Regions from separate parts of the Homo sapiens genome. Here region 1 is linked to region 2. Evidence: promoter capture Hi-C in 16 types of primary human blood cells and fetal thymus (Javierre and others, 2016). All regions are on one chromosome and are shown on one strand. The core of a region is centred on a gene start or on the middle of the fragment in contact, and the rest is flanking DNA. Distances in the headings are between cores, read along the strand shown. Region 1 has its middle 49 kb from the start of MIR3658. Region 2 holds the start of RXRG (retinoid X receptor gamma).

Evidence for each region. The method cuts DNA at HindIII sites, captures the fragments that hold promoters and counts their contacts. A CHiCAGO score of 5 or more calls a contact.
Region 1: a contact is called between a fragment that was not itself captured here and the fragment with the promoter of RXRG in region 2, in 1 of 17 cell types (naive B cells). The highest score is 5.8, in naive B cells.

What each region holds. Positions count from the first base shown.
Region 1 is chr1:165,955,072-165,958,784 of GRCh38, reverse strand. No RefSeq gene overlaps it. Among named protein-coding and RNA genes, the nearest start is that of MIR3658, 49 kb to the right of the region's middle. The HindIII fragment of the contact is 665 bases long and covers 953-1,617 here.
Region 2 is chr1:165,443,673-165,447,257 of GRCh38, reverse strand. RXRG (retinoid X receptor gamma) reads left to right here and starts at 2,132. Exons shown (of 10, transcript NM_006917.5): 1 at 2,132-2,413. The coding sequence starts at 2,365. The HindIII fragment of the contact is 7,493 bases long and covers 1-3,168 here.

The sequences.
Region 1 (3,713 bases), core at 36-2,535, 510 kb before region 2:
GAAACCATTAGAATGCTGCTGGGGCTGCCAAAAAGCAGAGAGTAACACAGACTGCGACACAGGCGGCCCAAGCGTGCCTTTGACTAGATAGAAATCAAGTTACCCCCCATGCAAGACAGAGGGGATTTATACCCCTGCCTGCATCTTGCCCTGCATGGCAGCCTCTGCCCACAGTGGGAGGAGGGGAAGCTAGAGAAGCAGCTAATTGCACTGGGGCCCTCTAATCCAGTCACAATTTAATCAAGCTTGGGGCTGTCAGTAGCAATGCTGTTTTCAAAAGACACTTTGATCTTATGAGTTGTCACTGCCAAGGCTGACCACATCAATCCTTCTGGAGCCAGAAGCTACCAGACTCATGTACCCATTAGACCAGGGACAGGAAAAAGGCCAGCACTCCAGACACACCAAACTAGATTGGAACAATTCCCAAATGTTTCATTCTATGGGGAAATTGGGCATAGGCCCCTTAGGGAAGAGCATGGCAAGAGGCACAAGCAGTTTTCAGGTTTCCAGGAAGTAAGTATTTTGCTTTATTTGTAATTATTAGCACTGATTGCTTTATTTCTAATTATTAGCAAAATAAGTATTTTGCTTTATTTCTAATTATTAGCATTTGAGTGACAAAATGTTTCCCAATAAAAAGGCCAAAACAGCTCTGCGGAGAGTATCTTTCTTTCTTCAAACTTAACTGGGAGAAATATAATAATTGACTTCCTCAGGCTCCGATCTATCCTCTCTCCAAATCCATCCTTCAAAAAATAAATTCATTTATCTATATTACAAATCCCGCTTAAGCACCCAATCCGTGGACCCCTGAAGAACAAATAAGAATAAGAACTGATCCCCGGGAGACCAACACGGAGCAGGCCATTTCAGTGCATTCAGTATGGACAATAACGTACCTATGAAGCAGGAAGCTCAAGGGGTCATGTCACTGTCAGATACAAAAGCTTAGAAGCCCACCCACACCCTCTCTACTTGTGGCAATCAATGATTTTCACCGATATCCCAGTCCTCTTCATTCCAGGCCCATGGTGGGAATGTCTTTCCCTCCTCTTCCCACGACCATATGACTAACCTTGACCAACAAAATGTGAGTGGAAATGACACACGACTTTTTTTTTTTTTTTCTGAGACGGAGTCTCACTCTGTGTCCCAGGCTGGAGTGCAGTGGCATGATTTCTGCTCACTGCAACCTCCATCCCCCAGGTTCAAGTGATTCTCACGCCTCAGCCTCCTGAGTAGCTGAGATTATAGGCACGTGCCACCATGCCTGGCTAATTTTTGTATTTTTAGTAGAGATGGGGTTTCACCATGTTGGCCAGACTGGTCTGGAACTCTTGACCTCAAGAGGTCCACCTGCCTTGGCCTCCCAAAGTGCTGGGATTACAGACATGAGCCACTGCACCCAGCTGACACGCTACTTTTAAGTGGAAGCCTTTAAGTACTGATGTGCAAATTTCTATGTCTTCTCCCTCCAACTGTCTCAAAGTACATTTCAGAAGGTGGGAGCTCCATCAGCATGATCCTGGAGTGAGAAGGACAGGAAGCAGGCTTCCTGCTGACCTGTGATGGACTTGTAGCATGAGCAAAAATTGAGCTTTGTTGATTTAAGCTTCTGAGGTTTTAGACTTATTTGTTTTTACAGCATAATATAGCTTACCCAAACTCCCTAGGCTGGCACTCGAGGACTTCCCATAAAGCAAAGCACCTATTCCTCTAGGCCTTTCTTTAATAATACTTCCATGAATTCTACACTGAAGCCAAACTGGTCTATCTACCATGTGCCAGCCATATCCAGACCATCTAACAAGCAGACCTTGTCTCATGCTAGTCCCTTTGCCCAAAATGCCCTCCTCCCATCTAAATCCTACTAACCTTATAAAATCTAGCTTAATAAATCCCTCCTCCAAGAGGCCTTCCTGAATGACCTAAGTTAGAAATGAATCCTGTGAATTATGATAGCCCTTTAAGCATCCCAGTCATGGGTATTTATCTTATAGAATTTTCTAGAATATTTGGCCATTTATTTGTCTGTGTCTCTGCTAGACGTAAACTCCTTGAGAATGGGGCTTTGGGGCTCATTGGCCTTCATGACCCACACTCCATGTAACCTGCATTTTGAGTGCCTTCCACATGGTAGTCAAATGTTATCATTTGCACAGGCTGGAACATTCCTTACAGTGCCTTTGAATCACTTTGTCTCATTTCTATAAAGAAAATGTGGTGAGCTCTCTCAGTTGCATTATGAACCTGAGCCACTGCTAAATCCAACCTCCCAGTTTTTATCTCAAATTTCTATTTTCTGGTCCACCTTCTTGGCCCTCATTATTTTCTTTTCACCTACATCCTCAACACTAGTAACTGGCTTTTTTTCAGAGGCCATTTTCCACCAAAGAACTAAACTATTATTTCAAGAGTCATGACTTCTGAGGGATCGAGCTGCAGGCATTTAGCAGTGAGCAAGCCTCCCTCACCAGGCAGGCAGCTTCCCTCTGCACCCAGCCTCTTAGCAAATGGAGCAAACCCAACATTGCAGGTTGCTGCACCACATGGACCTCTGGGGTACTTGGGAATATCTGAAACTGTAAGTGATAAATACTGTAACTCCCTCCTTGCAGGGTTCCTATGAGGATTAGAGACTAGCCAGAGCAATGCCTGGTACACAACAGGTATTCAATGAGTGACAGCCATTGTGTTAGAACAAAGCATCAGACCACACAAGGGCATATGTATGTCTGAACATAGTGGCCGTGGAAGATCTAAGGGATGGCTGGCAGGGCTTTGCTCTTCTCACCATGCCCCTCCAGCCCTGGCTCAATCTGTCACACACACGTAGTCTCCCCCAACGCTCTGTCCACTGTTTGAATTTCCAGTGTTAGAAAACCTATCTTGTATGTTTTAAAATACTATATCTGTCCAAGAAAGTCCCCTAGGACAATGATAAGTTTATGTGACAACTTCTATCATCTAACACATCATAGAAGATTCAGTAACCAGAGGCCAATCCAGGGAATGGAGCACAGGCTCAGGGACACTGTCCCATTGTTGGGATAATGTGGGAAGAGACCCACAAATACAGAAAGAGAACATGGACTTTTACAGAAAGAGACCCAGAAATACAGAAAGAGAACTTGGATCTTTACAGAAAAGATCTTGGAACTCATCTAGGTCCACCCCTTATCACATGTATGAGGATGCTGAGCCCAAGATATGTGAAGTGACTTGCCACAGCCCCAGATGCATTAATAAAAATGCTGGTTCCCAACTCCAGACCTCCTGATTCCCTGTTTACTGCTGCTCTTTCTACACTAGGGATCTCCTGGAGACAAAGGATGTTAGGCCCCAAAGATCATTTTGCTGGGTCCCAACCTGCTGCACCCTCACTGTCACCCTCTCCCCACTTGCCCTTTCCTATATCATCACCATTGACAGAAAATTTCAGTAATTAAAAAAAAAAACGTTGGTGAGGAGGGGAGGAAGAAGAAAAGGGGCTTCCTACACACATGTATAAAGCCCTGGCAGGCCCCAGGGAAATATACAGCTGTTCTAGCTTTCTGATTTGAGCTGTTAGCGGAAATTCCAGAAATTCAGCTGCTAACCACAGCAACAGAAGTCTTGCCTGCTCAGCCTCCCACATCTGTTCCTGGGCTCCAGAAGTGGGAGGGGAGGCCCAGCTTGGGAGGCTTCAGAGCAGATGGCAGCTCCACTCC
Region 2 (3,585 bases), core at 883-3,382:
GCAATGTTGGCTTGTGAGTTGGTGAGTTGGTGCTTTTACTATACATATAGCCTTTCAAGGCCATATAACTAGTGAGTAGCAGAGCAAAGTGTCTAAGGCACTAATGAATGGACTTTTTAGTGATATAAGATGTTGTCTTTGCTATGTCTATGTCAACATTTTTATCAATGAGTCGAATAAGATATGAAAAAGCAGTTCATCAGATTTTCAGAAGTCATGAAATAAGGGTATGAATAAGAAATATTTTGGACAACAGAAGCAGGATCCTAAAAGATTTGGGATGATGAATGAAGCCAAAAAGTTTTAACTTCAGAGGAATATAGGAAGCATTTCATGTAGGTCCCAAAACCAATTGCCCAAGGATGGGATGAAGAATATGCATAAGAGAACACAACTTAGGGGAGGTAGGGGTGGGGAGATTTTTATCGAGTTAGTTCTACATGAATTAACATGCAGAGCTGCCCACCTAATGCAAGTGAGCAAATGGTCCTCCTGTATTCTATATTACTTATGTCCACTGGACTCTCATCCCAGCAACAGTCAAGGCAGCTCTGGGCTCTCCAAAGCTCTTTACAGTGAAGGCCTGGATATTTCTTCCTCCTTTGTGACATGCTTTTGCTTTGATTCCCCATTTTGGCCTCCTCCTTTGTCATCATGACTTTGTTCCTGACTCTGGTCTTTTATTCTACGTTTTTGTTTTGGCTTCTCCTAGCATTTGAATCTTGATTTTTTACTCTGGGACCCTGATTTGACTTACCTCTCTGGCTCTCTATGTCTTATGCTGCATCAGGAGAAAATCTCTTATCTTTTTTCCAGCCCAACAGAGCTCAGCCCATGAAACGGACCTTCAATGGGTATGTTGACAGCACCCCATCACCGTGCCAACACATATACCATGAGGAAAAGGTTTGGACCATATCTGGAGTATTGCATCCAAGTCTGGCCAACCCCCTTCCTCACTGTGAGGGTATCTATGTAAACTGAAGTACATTATTAGAAAAAGGATAGGTTGGGAATAGACATGAACCCTTGGTGATACATAGAATTACTGAAAGAGCCAGAGATGCCTAGGGAAAGGGGGATTATGGGCACAGCAGATCAATCTCAGGATTTGCAGAGGATCCCACTGTGAAAGACTTTTTTGTCTTTCAGGCTTCTCTTGTGTGGCCCCTGGGAGCAGTCTAGCACCTGTGGGCAGAAGCTGTAGGGAAAAGGAGCAGATTTTATCTCTATAAGAAACTTTCTTGTGGTGAAAACTATCTAGAAATGGAATGAGAAAGTGGTGAGCTCCCCATTATTGGAGGTGTTCAAGTATAGGCTGAGCGGTGACTTGTCACGAAAACTGTATGACAGACCCAAACATCAACGGGGTGCTTAGATTCTTTGATCTCGGGTCAGTTCCACACAAGACAGGCTCTGTGTTAGTGAGGACCCAGTGGTGTTTTTGAACAGGCGGCAGGATAACAATGGTATATAAAATAAATGCAGAGAAAGACCTCCACATCAAGCCAACCCCTCCTCCCTACCTGTAAGTTTTCCACCTGAGTGAGCTCTGGCTCCAGCTGCACTTGTCAAACTCCCATTGTTAGAGCACAGATAAATGCTTCCGGCCACCCAAGCAGGAGAGGCCCACCTCAACTTAAGGGCTACTCTATTTTAGTTTTCCGTAGCTGGAGATTGAGTATCACGCTTTTCTAATCTTGTGCTTCTGAAAGGGCCCTGTTCTCTCTTGAACCCCACCCCCTCCTCCTTTCACAGATCAAATACCAAGTACATTGGACAGATAGAAGTTCGAATGAGAAAATGCATTTTAATAAAATCCCATTGATTTTTGTGGATGTAAGTCAAGGAACAGGCACCTAAAGAGTCTTCCATCCCCTGCCGTCTCCCGCCTCTCTCCTGACCTACACCGGGCGGTCATACATCGATTGGCTTCCTAGATAATAGATCGTGCCACCCGGTAGGGACCTCTGGGGACGCGCCGGGAGCTGGAAGAGTCGCACGCAGCAGCCCAACCCTGAGTTAATCAAACTAGCAACAGGATCTCAAGCAGCAGCGACGGCGGTGGCAAGAGTAGCGGTGACGGCGGCGGCGGCGGCGGCGGCAGCATTATGCGTGATTACTGACAGGCACCAGCTGCTGCCGCCACAGCCGTCTCAAACGCACTATGTGGACTCTCCGATCTAGAGGCAGATTCCTGACTAATCCCAGAGGGCTGGCCCAGCCTGTGCTCCCCGGGCTGCTAGGAAGCGATGACCACTCTTGTTAGCCCAAGTTGAAGAAAGCCGGGCTGTGCCTGGGAGCCGAGAGAGGCGGTAATATTTAGAAGCTGCACAGGAGAGGAACATGAACTGACGAGTAAACATGTATGGAAATTATTCTCACTTCATGAAGTTTCCCGCAGGCTATGGAGGTAAGTATCTCCCTTGGGCTTCACTGCGTGGACCTGTATGAGAGACTGAGAAGAAATTGGGAAATACGAATGACTGGATTAGTATTGAATTAAAAGGAGAACATATATGTTTATATGCATATATAGTGTGTATATAGCGTTTCAGCGTGTGTGTGCACGCGTGCATGAGAGAGGAGAGGAGGAAAGAATGGTCTGTAGGTGAGGATACGTTTGCATATCAGAATGAGGATACGGGGATATTCTAAGGAGAGAGTAAACCAACATGCTTGAGAATGTGTCTGAGACAAAGATAGAATAAGAGCATTGTTATAACCCAGTGTGTTTGTGCGGGTGTGAAAAGTGGAAGAGTTAACGGGGAATTACTATGATGTTCCTATTAGCCAACTTGTAATGAGAAAAAATGTGATTAAAAAGGTTTTGCCTATCTTGAGGGTTCCTGGGATACTTTGTAACAAGGGCATGATTGTTTTACTCAAAAGCAGATTTCCCTTTAATTGGATTTTTAAAAAGAAAACATAGTGCTTTAATTTGCTACTGTGTTTTCCTTCCCCTGTTTTCTTTCCTTTGATTTGCTAATAGCCTCTTCTCTCCTCCCCTGCTGCTGCCCCCAATTCTACTGCAAGAGTTGCTGCAATCACTTCCACTCTGGGGGTAGAGATCTGGGGATGGGGGGTTGGGGCTCTTAGAGAATTGGCAAACTGAAGATTCAAGTCACCGTGCCAGGCAGGGCAGCCCAGTCACACTTCACAGAAGCTTCCGGAGACTAGGTCCTCAGGCTGCCTTAACGCCCAAGCACATCCGTCCCAAGGATCCCTTGATTTAGTGACAGAAACAGTACAGCCGCCCAGCTCTGAGTAAATGGAAGCAACAGCTGACCAACTGGCCTGTCGCTTGTCAGTTGGAGGCATGCAGCTTATGTTGCTGGGAGCCAAAGAAAGATTCTGGCAGGCAAGACAGCAGAAATTCTTATAAGGTTTTGAAAATTGAAAAGTCCCTGCTCTCCAGACTTCCTCCGTGGACCAATTCATCTGAAGGCTTGGGACTAAAGCTTGCCTAACTTGGCTGGGCAGAACCCCCTGGGAGGCATGGTGACACACTGCAAGGTAGAAGTGATCTCTGTCACCAGGAGGTGTTAGACCTGGGAGTTTGCACATTCATTCAGGGTAGTTTTT